Regions from separate parts of the Homo sapiens genome. Here region 1 is linked to region 2. Evidence: promoter capture Hi-C in human tissues and cell types (Jung and others, 2019). All regions are on one chromosome and are shown on one strand. Each heading gives the region's core, a stretch centred on a gene start or on the middle of the fragment in contact. The rest is flanking DNA. Distances are from core to core; before and after follow the strand shown.

Region 1 (7,049 bases), core at 515-3,014, 500 kb after region 2:
GCCCGCGCGCTGCTTGCCTTGGCCAAGGTGGACGAGAACCACTCAGAGTTTACTCTGTACGAATCACGGCTGTTGGACATCTCGGTATCACCGTTGATGAACTCATTGGTTTCACAAGTCATTTGTGATGTACTGTTTTTGATTGGCCAGTCATGACAGCCGTGGGACACCTCCCCCCCCCGTGTGTGTGTGCGTGTGTGGAGAACTTAGAAACTGACTGTTGCCCTTTATTTATGCAAAACCACCTCAGAATCCAGTTTACCCTGTGCTGTCCAGCTTCTCCCTTGGGAAAAAGTCTCTCCTGTTTCTCTCTCCTCCTTCCACCTCCCCTCCCTCCATCACCTCACGCCTTTCTGTTCCTTGTCCTCACCTTACTCCCCTCAGGACCCTACCCCACCCTCTTTGAAAAGACAAAGCTCTGCCTACATAGAAGACTTTTTTTATTTTAACCAAAGTTACTGTTGTTTACAGTGAGTTTGGGGAAAAAAAATAAAATAAAAATGGCTTTCCCAGTCCTTGCATCAACGGGATGCCACATTTCATAACTGTTTTTAATGGTAAAAAAAAAAAAAAAAAATACAAAAAAAAATTCTGAAGGACAAAAAAGGTGACTGCTGAACTGTGTGTGGTTTATTGTTGTACATTCACAATCTTGCAGGAGCCAAGAAGTTCGCAGTTGTGAACAGACCCTGTTCACTGGAGAGGCCTGTGCAGTAGAGTGTAGACCCTTTCATGTACTGTACTGTACACCTGATACTGTAAACATACTGTAATAATAATGTCTCACATGGAAACAGAAAACGCTGGGTCAGCAGCAAGCTGTAGTTTTTAAAAATGTTTTTAGTTAAACGTTGAGGAGAAAAAAAAAAAAGGCTTTTCCCCCAAAGTATCATGTGTGAACCTACAACACCCTGACCTCTTTCTCTCCTCCTTGATTGTATGAATAACCCTGAGATCACCTCTTAGAACTGGTTTTAACCTTTAGCTGCAGCGGCTACGCTGCCACGTGTGTATATATATGACGTTGTACATTGCACATACCCTTGGATCCCCACAGTTTGGTCCTCCTCCCAGCTACCCCTTTATAGTATGACGAGTTAACAAGTTGGTGACCTGCACAAAGCGAGACACAGCTATTTAATCTCTTGCCAGATATCGCCCCTCTTGGTGCGATGCTGTACAGGTCTCTGTAAAAAGTCCTTGCTGTCTCAGCAGCCAATCAACTTATAGTTTATTTTTTTCTGGGTTTTTGTTTTGTTTTGTTTTCTTTCTAATCGAGGTGTGAAAAAGTTCTAGGTTCAGTTGAAGTTCTGATGAAGAAACACAATTGAGATTTTTTCAGTGATAAAATCTGCATATTTGTATTTCAACAATGTAGCTAAAACTTGATGTAAATTCCTCCTTTTTTTCCTTTTTTGGCTTAATGAATATCATTTATTCAGTATGAAATCTTTATACTATATGTTCCACGTGTTAAGAATAAATGTACATTAAATCTTGGTAAGACTTTTGTGAAGCTTTTTATTGTTTTCAAACTAAAACTTGACCTTTTGTCGGGGGGCAGGGGGATAGTCCTGTTTTTGCAAACCTCCCTTAGTGTGAGATCTCCCCTAAATAGTGGCATTCCTGGACCCTGTCATTTATTTACTATATTCCAAAATAAGACAACCATTTATCTGGAGGCAATCTCCAACTTAATCACTTATAATATCTCTGGACTGGCTCTTTTCCCTGACTCCAGACTAGAGCATTCAGCCACCTTTCTTGTCATCCCTGCTTGGAAGTTTACTTTGAACATGCCAAAGCTAAAATGTCCTGTCTTCCCCCACTAGAAACCTGCTTCTCCCATAGTTTTGGTTTTTTTGTTTGTGTTTTCCTTTTAGTAAATGGCAACTCCATTCTATCACTTGGCTAAAAAAATCCTTGACTTCTTTCACTTCCACATCCAATCTGTTAGCACTCTTCATAAAATAATCCTCAATCCCACACTACTGTAGTTCAAGATACTGTCATATCTTGGATTCTTGAAATACCTCCAAATTGGCCTCCCTGCTTCTGCTTTGCCTGGTTGAACCTATTCTCAACAGAGCAACCAAAAGGACCCCTATAAAAGGTAAGTCAGATCAAACGCCTTCAGTGCTTCTGACTCAGTAAGTAAAAATCCAGACTCTTAAAAAGTGGCCTACAAGGCCCTGAGTTATCTAGCTTACCTCTACCTTTCCTGCACCATCTGTCTTGCCCGTTGCTCACCCCACTGTATAGAGATGTTTCCACCTTGGAGTCTTTGTACTTTATACTCTCTCACCAAATAACTGCATGGCTCAAGTCCTCGACTGCTTCAAGTCTTTGTCCAAATATATAAGTAAGGCTTTTCATGGTCACCTTACTTAGAATAGCAATCTCTGCCCCCCACTATGTTTCCCTTGTCTGCCTTATTTTTCCTGTGGCACTTGTTACTGTCTGGCCTGTTGTGTGTTGTACTTACCTGTCACCTTCCACTGAAATGTAAACTGAGGGTGGTGGGAGGGGTGTTTTGTTCACTGCTGCATCCTGGTGCTAACACATAGACTGGCACATAGCATCTACTTAAGTAGTAGTTGAATGATACTGTCGATGTTGGCTAGATGCAGTTGCTTTTATGAGGCTAATGTCACAATATATAGTTTCTCTGTTCACCCCCTTCCTTAGGGAAACAATAGAGAAGCCTCAAGTTCCTCAGGAGAAATCAGAAGCAGAAAGAGAAAAAATGCTATCATTGTGGACACTTAGAAGTGAAATTTGAAACAAGAAACAACAGTTTTCTATTGTGTACCTACTTATATTCTGGACATAGCACATCACAATCCTACAACAATCCTGTGCCTGTGAAGTCAGTATGTGGCTCCCATTTTACAGTTGAAGAAAGAGGCTAAGAAAAGTGAAAGGCTTTTTAAGTTCATACACCAAGCAAGTTCCACCTGACTCCAAGGATCATGCTTTTCTTAATATACCACACTACCTCCTTTCTGGATGAGAACCCAACCCAGGAGTAAGGGATCTAGCTGTGGAGCTCAGCAAGCAAGATTTGTTTTTATTGTCTTTAGCACGAGGTAAAATTGTCCTCAGAATTTCAATCAAGTGTTCATCAGACTAAGTGTGGCTGTTAATATTTGGGTCAGGAACAGGATTTGAATAATTAGTATTTCTCAATTGAGAGAGGAAAACCTTTGTCAACCAAGATGCGTTCCTAGGATTCTTCTAGAAAAAGGTAAATGGGAAGCTTTTCATATCTACAATTTTGGTAAGCAATATTGCTAATGGCTATTTTTGTTCTAGGCCTCGAGCTCCGTTTGCTAGTCTAGAAATTGCATATCTGGGCTGTGTGTGGAGCATTACCTAGGAGTTCGGTTTCCTGGGTTCCTTTCATCTGCTCTCCTGCAATGCAGGGAGAGCCTAGCCTGGTCTCCAGTTTCTGACTGGAGTTACCATGGCCAAGAGAACTGCTGGCCAGTGAGCTGTGAGTAATTTGCTTTTGAGAAGTAAATAGAACCTAGCCAGCAGAGAACCCAGGGGTGTGGCCAGTAGTTCTTTTCCCAGGCTCCTCCCTCCCCACCCCCCAAATGACCTTAACCTTCTTTCATAGCTGGAGAGCAGCCAAGTCCAGCCTAAACAATACTCTCAACCTCATTGGCTCTTTTGCCTTGCAGCCACTGCCACCCCCAAGTGGCTAAGGCCTTCCCACTAGGCCTCTCAGTGGGGTCAAGGTTTTCTAACCACTGAAAGGCAAACACTGAAGGAATGGTGAAAAATACCTAGTGACCATGGGCTTTAAATGATGAGTGTTTGGGTACTGCAGTTGGAGGCAAGGCAGAGTCTTTGTCCTTGGGTGGATGGGCATCTTCAAGTGATCGGGCAGAGGCCAAAAAGGATGCTTTTGGTATATGAGACCTGACTGGTGTCACCCCAAGTGTCAGGATGGATGTAAATGTCACCCAGCATCTTGGAAACTGCCAATGAATGCCTTTTATCCCACAGCAAAAAGAAGTAGCATAAAGTTCTGGTAAAGTACAGCAGGCCAGTATGGTCACTTTCGCCCCACAATGGCATGACATCAGAGCCAGCATCCCAGATTAGGATCAGCTATTCCAATCCCATAGGACTGGGGCCATGGAAAGTTTAGCTTCTAGAAACTGAACTGCTGAGAGTAGTTGGGCTACTTACTGGGCTGGTCCTCTGCCCAGCCTGGGGCCAAGGCCACTTCCAGAAGTGGAGGCAGGAGCAAGGCAAGGCAGCTACAGAGAGAAATGTCAGTTGCTCCAGGGAAGTGAGTGTTCTGTGAGAACCACCTAACTTCCTTCTCTACACTTTCAGTGGGAAAATCACTTTTTTGTTCAGTGAGTTGTAATAGCCCATCTTTATTGAGCATTGTATGCCAAGCACTATAAATCCTATGAGGTAGATATCATCTCCACCAGGGCAAGGATTGTTTCTATCTTGCTCAGTGTTGCATCTTCATCCCATCACATAGTAGGCATTCCTGTACTGTTGAACAAATCAAACAGATAAGATAGGAATTTGATGGAGGAAAGAGTAGGTCAGAGCTGTTAAGACTTGGTGTGCCCATCTTAGCATAGCCCGTAAAGACTCTTACATATGGGAAAAATGGAAGAGAGGGAAAGAGGTAAATCTGTGAAAGATTAAAATAGTGTAGAGTGGGAGAACCAGCCTGGGAGGCTGGAGACCTGAATTCAAGTCCCATCGCTACCACTAGCTATGTGACTTCTTGCCAGTCACTTACCCTTTGTGATCCTTAGCTCCCTCATCCATAAAATATAGGTATAGGATTAAAGAAATTGATTTATTGACCAGATCTTTATTGAAGACACACAGTGTGCAAGGCACTGTTCTAACTGGAAATACATTGGTGAACAAAGCCCTTGCTCCTCCATTACACTCAGAAGCTTACATTCTAGAATAGGGAAACAGACATTGAAACAAGTAAAATTCATGGACAGGACAAGCAGATAGTGTTAAGTGCTATGAAGAAAACAGAGGCCGGGCGCAGTGGCTCACACCTGTAATCCCAGCATTTTGGGAGGCCAAGGTGGGTGGATCCTTTGAGCCTAGGAGTTCCAGACTAGCCTTGGCAATATAGTGAGACCTCATCTTTAAAAAAAAAAAAAAAAAAAAAAAAAAACAGAACAGACTGATGGGATAGTACAGGGAAAGCCTCTCTAAGGAGGTGACTTCTCTCCGGAGACCCAAACATAATGGGCTAGCCAAAGGGTGGTCTGGAAGTAGAGTGCTTCAAGCAGGGAAAATAGCAAGAGCAGAGCCAGGCAAGTTCAAAGAACAGAAATGATGTAACCCTCTTAAATCCTAAGCTTCTAGAATAGTAATGCATTGCTTGCATTGTTCTGGTTAGGGATTTGTATGTGATATTGTTTCTTGGTGATGTGGGATATGTGCTTCTTAATGGAAATGGCTGGGAAGTGTGGAGTCTTTCTGGAGCCTGGGATATGGCTCTTTCTCACTTGCTTTCCACAGTTCTGGTAGCTCAGCTGGCTCCCTGGGTAGATGCAGGCTCCATCTTAGCTGCAGACTCTACAAGAACACTGAGAGGCTGCCTCCGTCACTACTCAAAGCCTTGGAGTCCCAGAATCCCCTCCTATCCCACCTAGCCTTCTTCCAATCTGAAACCAGGGAGTCAGGGCTTTGAGAGCACAAGATTCAGCTTCCTTGTTTTCCTGTCAGAGCAGAAGTCAGAAAATGAAACAGGAAACAGAGCGGAAGAGGAGGGGGTTGGGTAGCAGAGAAGGAAAAGAGAAATTGCAGGAAAGTACAGCTGAAAATCTGGATAAAGTTCTACCTCTACAGGGTGACAGCTGAGCTTTTAAAAAACATTCTGACTTGTCTTGAGAGACCCCTGGCCTTTTTACAAATAGATTTTTGAGAGAATTTGATGTGGACAGAGGGAACCCTGAGAATGCATGTCTTTTTTCCCCTTGTGAATTTACAGAGCAAGGACAGTTCATTTCTCAGTTTTGTCTTTGCAGAGAGAGTGCTGCTTGGAGCCTCATGGTGGACTTCTAGAGATTCAAGTCACAGCCTTAGGCCCCAGTCACAAGTGTGTCCCCAGGCTTTGCCACGTTACTCACAGGCCTCTGGAGCTGAGAACAAGTGCGTGGCACTGAAAAACCTGGGGGAAGGGCCATGAAACTCCATTTTTTCCCCCTTCTCCAACACACAACGACTAAATATGATTTGCCTTTTCTCCACCTTGCACACAACAGATATCTGAAGGCAATTTAGGTCTCAGGGCCTGAAATGAGTTACAGAGTCAAGAGATACAGTCCCAGGCCCCCACAGACTGATGTGGGCTGGTCTTCGCCTGGAGAGGTAGCAACCATCTCTTTGTTCCCACCCACATGAGTAGCCGTTGCAGAAGATAAACCCCTCCCTGAGCCAGGCTGTGGCCAGAGGCTAACCCGGCCCCTGGCTTCGTTTGGAGGGCAGATAACTGAAACCACATAAGGCTTTGGAATCCTGAGAAACAAGAAATCCACCAACGGAGAAGGATTTATCATCTGTTTCCTTTAAGGAGGGTGCAAAGTTGTTCTAACAGTTTCCGTTACAAGGGTACAAACTGGCCGCTCCCCCCAATAGACGGTTTTGTTGAGTTCGCCTCTTTTTTTTTCTTCTTTTTTTGGCCCCACTTCCTATGAGAGAAACTGCTTGGGTGAGGGAGGTGAAAGGAGCCCTGGAGGGTGTTCTCTGAGGTTTTCTTCACCATCCTCATTAGCCACCTGAGGTGGGGCTGAGGACTAAAGTAGGACAGAAGGTCTCTGGTAGATAGAGGAGGGGAAAATCAGGGGGATCCCCCACTTTCTTCACACCCAGGACGCAGGGTGCCGCTGCCGGCCACAGAAACCCCAAGAATGTTTTTCTTTGGCTATTCAGAGGACATCTATTGTGTGTCAGGCCCTGTGCTGAGCTGTTGTTGCCTGACAGCAGGAAGAGCGCGGCTCTGGTTTCTGTGAAGAGGCTGCGGGTCAGCCTCCGACTACAAG
Region 2 (6,794 bases), core at 1,374-3,873:
CTGGCATGTTGGATTACGTTTGTCCTGTTAATTCACTCTAGACGGTGAGTTACTAATTAACTTTTGGCAGGTACAACAGATAAGTCCTCACAAACTGTTCCCAGCCCTAGGCTGACATGAGAGACGAACAGGCTGTCCACCTTTCTTCTCCATCCAATGGGATGGATCCATGTTCATTCCCACTTCACACCTTGGTCCTGCTGATTAGAGAGCTCATCAGAGGGGCCTGGAAAGGCTGAGCAAGTACCAGTGACAATGGCCATTTAAGAATTCTCAGGCCCCATGTGCCAGCCTTCTTGGGAACTGAGCTGGCTTTCTGGGTTTTCTCATGCCTGGTCTTACTGCTTCTTCCTCAGGGCTCTTGTTCTCCCAGAAGCCTCAGGGTAATGTGTTGGTTAGCACGTAACTACTAGGATTGGGGCCCTAGGGATTATAGCCAGGACTCTAATCTGCCTACCATGCCATTTAACAAGAGATCCCACTCTCCAGCTGCCTTGTGTCCCTAGGGTCCTGGCCATGTGTTTAGTGTGCTAAACTTTCTCCTTTGTTCTCAGGCCTTCCAGGTAGTCCCCTTCCTGGACTTAAGAGTGCAAACTCTTCTCTGTGGTTCTAGCCTTGGGCAGAATTATATCCCAGAGACCACAGAGCAACTGTCAAGCTGCTTACCCCCTCACCCAGGGCTACAGCCTGTGCCCAGCCCTCTAATTTGTGCCTCTCTTGTGTTGGGGGTGGTGGGGGTTATTCCTTTCCCTTTCCTGCTCTGGCCTCCTTGAAAGTTCAGAGTACCCAGTACAAGTCAGCTTTAAAGTACAGCTTTTAGTGTTTCCTGGGTTGTTTCTCTGGGGCTTTAGTGAGGGACCTTTGCCCTCTGGTTTTTCTTGCCTCCTGGTTTAGGGAGCATCTCACACTTGTTAGTATCTGGTTGTTGGGCCAGCCGTGCCTCCTCTAGATCTGGAGCCAGGCCAGGCAGGGGCCACGTGTGGGCCAGTCAGCCACTACAAGATTTTTGCTAAGCTTTGGGCTGTTGGCAGCATCTTGGACCTCATGCCTGGGCCTGAATGAGGCTCTTTCTTAAGTGTTTTTACAAGTTTGTGTTTTATTTATGGAGTGACTTATCCCTTCCATTCAGAGCAGCCCCACCCAGCCAGCCCTTCAGCCTCTGGGCTCCTGCTGCTTAAAGGCAGAGCCGCCTGGTTGGTCTCCACCCTGTGCATTGGGAGCCCAGCCACCATGCTGACGGGTATTTTTCCTCATAAAGTTTATAACCAGTTATTTATATGAATCTTTGTTATGTCCATTTGTTTGTATTGCGTATTTTGATTATAAAATAAAGTATCTTAACAGACTCCTCAGTTTTCCATACCCTTCCATCACCACCACCACGCTATTCTACCCCTCACTTTGGCTTGTTAGAGCCAAACACCTGGGTGTTCAGCCAGGTCCCCCAGGCAGCAGCGTGGAGGAACCTTTGGCAGGTCCAGCCAGCCTCATGTCCCTATCTATCTCTGCCACCTCTGCTCCTCTGTCGTTCTATAGAACCAGATCTCTTCCCACTCACTTTCTCTTGGGCAAACCTTCCCTGAGTCATAACAGAAGTTTGTCACTGGAAAGTTTCAGCAGTCCTCTCAGGAAGTTGGCAGCCTCTGGGTTGCTGTGAGGAAGTGGCTTTACCAGAGCAAGGGTTGTCTTTCTGGGCTGTTAACCTGCCTGAGCCCTGGACCAGGGGGACATCTGAGAAGCATGATGTTGAGTGCCAGACAGCTAGGTCTCCAAAGTTGGGCTCGTTGCTGGAGTCTGCCCCCTCAACCGCTGAATTCTTGCTGGGAGTAGTAGCAGTTTGGGAATGCCATCTGCAGCATGGAGCTGGGGTTGAGCTTGGACCACCCCAAGACCTGGGGTGGATCTTAAGGGTCAGCTTGAGCCTAGGCTCTCGAGTCCTGACATCATCCTCTACCGCCACGCTTTCCAGCTGTCAGCCTTGGTCTCCATCTGGTTCCTTGAGGGTGTGGCCTCTGCGTCCTGCTATCACCCTTCCTTGTCTAAACCTTCCCACCTGAGTGGAGAGGAACTTGGGGGAAAATCTCTAAGCATGGGCTCTTCCTGCTGTCCTATGCTTCCTATCCCCTAGGGTTAGTGGTGCGTGTTGGGTGGTGGAGCGAGGGATCCCTTGGAGCAAGGTTCTTAGAGAACTTTGGGTCTGAAAGCAGCTCAAACCTTCCAAAGCCCCAAGCTTCCCTGTGCTATTAGAGCACCTCCTCCTGGAGAGAGCGGCTCTCGTGGCTGGGGAGTTGGATGCACCAAACCTGTGTGCGGCTGGAGAGGGAGGCTTCTGCCAGACCCTCTCCCGGGCCTGTCCTGCCACCCAGGCCCCTCCCCAGTCTCACACTGAGCTCCAGATCAGGGAAGGGCCGAAAAGGACGATCAGGGCAGCCGCAGAAGGGGCGCCCTGCGTGGGACGGGTCCGTTGCGCGCCTGGTAACCGAGGGGGAAGGGAAGGGGCCTCTGGCGTGCGGGGCGGTGTCGCGCAGGTCCCACCCCGCCTGCCCGCGCCGCCCATTGGTCCCGAGCGCGATGACTTGGCGGGCGGAGCAGGAAGGAAACCGCTCCCGAGCACGGCGGCGGCGTCGTCTCCCGGCAGTGCAGCTGCCGCTACCGCCGCCCTCTGCCCGCCGGCCCGTCTGTCTACCCCCAGCATGAGCGGCCTGCGCGTCTACAGCACGTCGGTCACCGGCTCCCGCGAAGTAAGTGCGCGCCCGGACTGGCGCTGGGGGAAAGCGCAGGGCTGTATCCCGGTGCTTTGGACCCTAGCGCCCGGGACCCACCCCCAGGACGGGGGCGGGGTGGGGGGAGTGCGTCGGCGAGGTGCTGGGCACGGTCTCCCGGACCCGGTCCCGAGGCCCCATCCTGAATGTCTTCATCGGGCATCCTGGGTCCTTTGCAGCCGCGGCATGAACTTCCCGTGCCCATCCCCCATCAACCCCACACCCATTCTCTGCACTCCCACTACCGGGCTGACCCTGACCACGACCGCAGCCTGCCCTCCCCTCCCCTCCCCACCCTGAGCCTGATCCCACTTCCCTTCACTCTGACCCCCTCCCCCGTGGCTGATAATCCCTCTCTTCATCCTGCACCACCTCAAGCCTGACTCATCCTCCCAACTCCTAGAGGCCAGAACCCTCCCCTAGTGTGGAGGGGAATGGGGGGACAAAAGCTCCTGGTCACAGCCTCTCTCACCCTGCCCAGCATTTCCCCCATAAATCCTCCAGCCTATCCACTAACCCCTACCCACCCTCTGTCCCCAGATCAAGTCCCAGCAGAGCGAGGTGACCCGAATCCTGGATGGGAAGCGCATCCAATACCAGCTAGTGGACATCTCCCAGGACAACGCCCTGAGGGATGAGATGCGAGCCTTGGCAGGCAACCCCAAGGCCACCCCACCCCAGATTGTCAACGGGGACCAGTACTGTGGGGTATGGGCTGGGGGACGGGGGGGTGGGGGGAGTGTTGGAAGAGGACTCTAGCCAGGGTCATATCTGCCACAAAGCACTTGGGCCCCCTGCATTCAGGTGACCACCCCTCGCCTCCCCTTCTCCAGGACTATGAGCTCTTCGTGGAGGCTGTGGAACAAAACACGCTGCAGGAGTTCCTGAAGCTGGCTTGAGTCAAGCCTGTCCAGAGTTCCCCTGCTGGACTCCATCACCACACTCCCCCCAGCCTTCACCTGGCCATGAAGGACCTTTTGACCAACTCCCTGTCATTCCTAACCTAACCTTAGAGTCCCTCCCCCAATGCAGGCCACTTCTCCTCCCTCCTCTCTAAATGTAGTCCCCTCTCCTCCATCTAAAGGCAACATTCCTTACCCATTAGTCTCAGAAATTGTCTTAAGCAACAGCCCCAAATGCTGGCTGCCCCCAGCCAAGCATTGGGGCCGCCATCCTGCCTGGCACTGGCTGATGGGCACCTCTGTTGGTTCCATCAGCCAGAGCTCTGCCAAAGGCCCCGCAGTCCCTCTCCCAGGAGGACCCTAGAGGCAATTAAATGATGTCCTGTTCCATTGGCACTGTGTCTGGTTGGTTGTGGCCTGGGCCTCCTGGGTCCCTGCCCTGGGCAAGGTTGGTAGTTGTGACTGTGCTGAGACTGCTCTGTGGGAAGGGTGGCTGAGCTGTTCTCTTGTGACTGTCACCTCTGTGTTTGTTAGTGCATGTGTTTGGATATGTCTGACACACAAATACCTGTATGGACCAGTGGTTTCTGGAGATGTCTGGGTGGGCCACCCTCCAGTTCACATGCATGTGTCCATATCATGCTTGTGCCTTGGTGTGTAGTGCACATCTCCATGCCTGTCAGTGAGTGTGGCCATCCCATGCGCCTGTGTTGGAGCACAATGGCTAAGAATGAGTGTATCATGGGAGGTGGGTACCCAGCTGCAGTTCTGCTAATTTGGGGGCATGGGTCTAGTGGCAAAATGGCTTTGTGCGGTGTTGAAGTGTCCCCACGAGTTGGTGGGTCTGTGCCTGTGCACAGGTATCTGCTGGCTGCACACATACACAGTGAGGCTCTGCTGTCCCAGCTGAGAATGTAAACCCAGCTGGGGCCAGCTCCTTCCCCCCACTGCATCCCTCCCTTCACAGGATCCACTTAGCCCTTCTTGGGAGAAAGAGGAACCTAGAAGACAAAGACCCAGCAGCCAGGCCCGCCAGCCGGGGCTCGAGTTACCAAGGGGCGGGTCGGCACCGCCCCCTCCCTGGCCCAGCTGGTCCCAGGCCTTTCCTACGTGCCTGGCGAGATGGCCCACCCAAGAGCCTGGCGGAGCAGCGGGTTGAGGGGGCGGGTGCTTTATTGGGGGCTGGGACTGGGTCCAGGACAGGGACTGGGGCCGGGACCGGGACCGGGACTGGGGCCGGGACCGGGACCGGGACTGGGGCCGGGACCGGGACCGGGACAGGGACCAGGACTGAATTTCAGGCTGGACTTCGGGGCTCGGCGTGCCCGCAGCAGCAGTGCTGCTTTGGGCACAAGGCCTGCAGCCTGCAGCGTGAGTGTATCGTCCTGGTAGAGGGTGGGCGGGAATGTGCTGAAGATCTCAAAGGCAGAGGCATCCATGACCCTGGGGACCAGGCAGAGCAGATCAGGCTGGGCAGTGGGACCAGAGCCCCTCTGTGGCCCTGGCCCTGCCCTGCACCCACCTGGCCTGCGCTAGCAGAGCTCGCACGTCCCCAATGGTGTTGTCAGGCTGCATCATCAGTAGGAAGGCCTGTTCCCCATTCTCAGACTTGATGCGCAGCATGGAGAGCGGGGGTGCCGGCGTGTTGGGTGACTCCTGGCTCCTGCACAGCCCAGAGGCCATCAGCACGCGGTGACCCAACGCCCCCAGGCCCTCACCTCCTCATCCCGCCCTCACCTCTCTCGCTCAGCGGCCAAGGTGGGCGTCTCCACCACAATCTCCTGGATCCGGGCAGGCAATGGGCAGCAGTTCTGGAAGGTATCAGTGGAGGGTGGACAGAGCCCTAGGCCCCATTTGAGTCATCCCCACAAACCTTAGAGGGACACTTCCTTGACCAGGGACAGATGAGACCAGTGAGCAAAGCGGGAGGGGGTGTTCTGTATAAACCAAGGCCAGAGGAGAGGCAATGGAAGGGGAAGAAGGTTCTGGGAGGCAGCCCCATGGTTCCCCCCAGGTAACCCCCCGTTTCAGTCTAATGGAGACAGAACCCCACACAGACGATGATCAGGCTGGAAGCCCACCCCAGCCTGGGGTCAGGGAAGGCTTCCCTCGGAAAATGACAACTGAGCTGTGACTGAAGGATGAATGGGAGTCCTTAGAAATGGAATGGATGCAGGGATATTCCAGACAGCATCAACAAAGATCCTGGGTTCAGGGAAAGCTTCCTAGAGGTGGCGACACATTTGGGCAACTGCCAGCATTATGTGTGGCTGAAGCTGGGGCTCAATTGGACTGGAAGGAAAAGGTTGGTGTGAGGAGGGGCCTGGCAATATAGGACGGGCCTTGAGTGCCAGCATAAGGAACCTGGCTTTATCTCAAGAACCACTGGAACATTTCAACAGGGAAGGCAGCCTGGAGGATGGTCAGCAGGGGCAGGAGTGGCAGTGGGAGGCAGCTGTCTGGGAGAGACACTCTGAACCCTAGACTAGGGTGGTGGGTGGTGGGAATGTGGAGAAGGGATGCATCTGGGAGAAGTTCTGGGGGTGGACAGACCAGACAGGACTTAGCAATGTGTGGGTGAGGGAGGCAGAGGAGGCCTGAGAAACTAAGGTTTGGTGCCTTTCACAGGTGGACACCTAGGAGGAGAAGCAGAATAGGGAGCGAGGAGACAGAATGATGAGGGCCAAGGAGAGTCTGAGGCAACCACGAAGGGAGTACCCAGTACTGAGTTGGATATTTTGGCCTAGACCTTGATGGGGTGGCCTGGGCCTTGGGCTCACCCCTGGCCTGGACTCTGACTTTAGCCCTCTTACAGCTAACCCACCTGCTTTCCGGGGCCCAGCCCGTGCCCTCACCAGCCTCACAGTTTCCAGGAGACAGTGGAGCAACAGCTCTGAGGGACTCATCAGGTGCCTCAAGCTTGAGCCTTCTGACAAGACACTGTTCTGGCAGGCTGGACCAGGGCTGGTGCTAAAGTTCCCCCAGGAGGGCTGGGGGAGTTAGCATTGGCCTCACCTGCAAGGTGTCCCTGATGGGGCCCCGGATGTCAATCACCTCGCCTTGCCGGATCACAAACTTGGGGAGCCTGTTCAGAAATTTCTCAGCAGTCATCCTGGAGCCTACAGGCAGA

What was found. The method cuts DNA at HindIII sites, captures the fragments that hold promoters and counts their contacts. A contact is called where the count stands out against the background at its distance.
Region 1: a fragment that was not itself captured here is called in contact with the fragment with the promoter of SH3BGRL3 in region 2 in 2 of the 25 tissues and cell types used here (dorsolateral prefrontal cortex and hippocampus).

What each region holds. Positions count from the first base shown.
Region 1 is chr1:26,780,601-26,787,649 of GRCh38, forward strand. It overlaps ARID1A (AT-rich interaction domain 1A), which reads left to right. Exons shown (of 20, transcript NM_006015.6): 20 at 1-1,504. The coding sequence ends at 156. It also overlaps a transcript of PIGV not described here. Among named protein-coding and RNA genes, the nearest start is that of PIGV, 3.8 kb to the right of the region's middle. RefSeq lists enhancers at 6,120-6,269, 6,790-7,049. The HindIII fragment of the contact is 6,774 bases long and covers 1-5,151 here.
Region 2 is chr1:26,277,463-26,284,256 of GRCh38, forward strand. SH3BGRL3 (SH3 domain binding glutamate rich protein like 3) reads left to right here and starts at 2,624. Exons shown (of 3, transcript NM_031286.4): 1 at 2,624-2,741; 2 at 3,303-3,470; 3 at 3,596-4,060. The coding sequence starts at 2,694. The coding sequence ends at 3,661. It overlaps CEP85 (centrosomal protein 85), which reads left to right. Exons shown (of 14, transcript NM_001319944.2): 14 at 1-1,346. UBXN11 (UBX domain protein 11) reads right to left here. Exons shown (of 15, transcript NM_001389556.1): 12 at 6,680-6,783; 13 at 5,402-5,475; 14 at 5,187-5,327; 15 at 4,820-5,107. The coding sequence ends at 4,837. RefSeq lists enhancers at 2,145-3,032, 3,033-3,919, 6,415-6,794 and silencers at 2,408-2,979, 2,456-2,905. The HindIII fragment of the contact is 5,211 bases long and covers 1-4,057 here.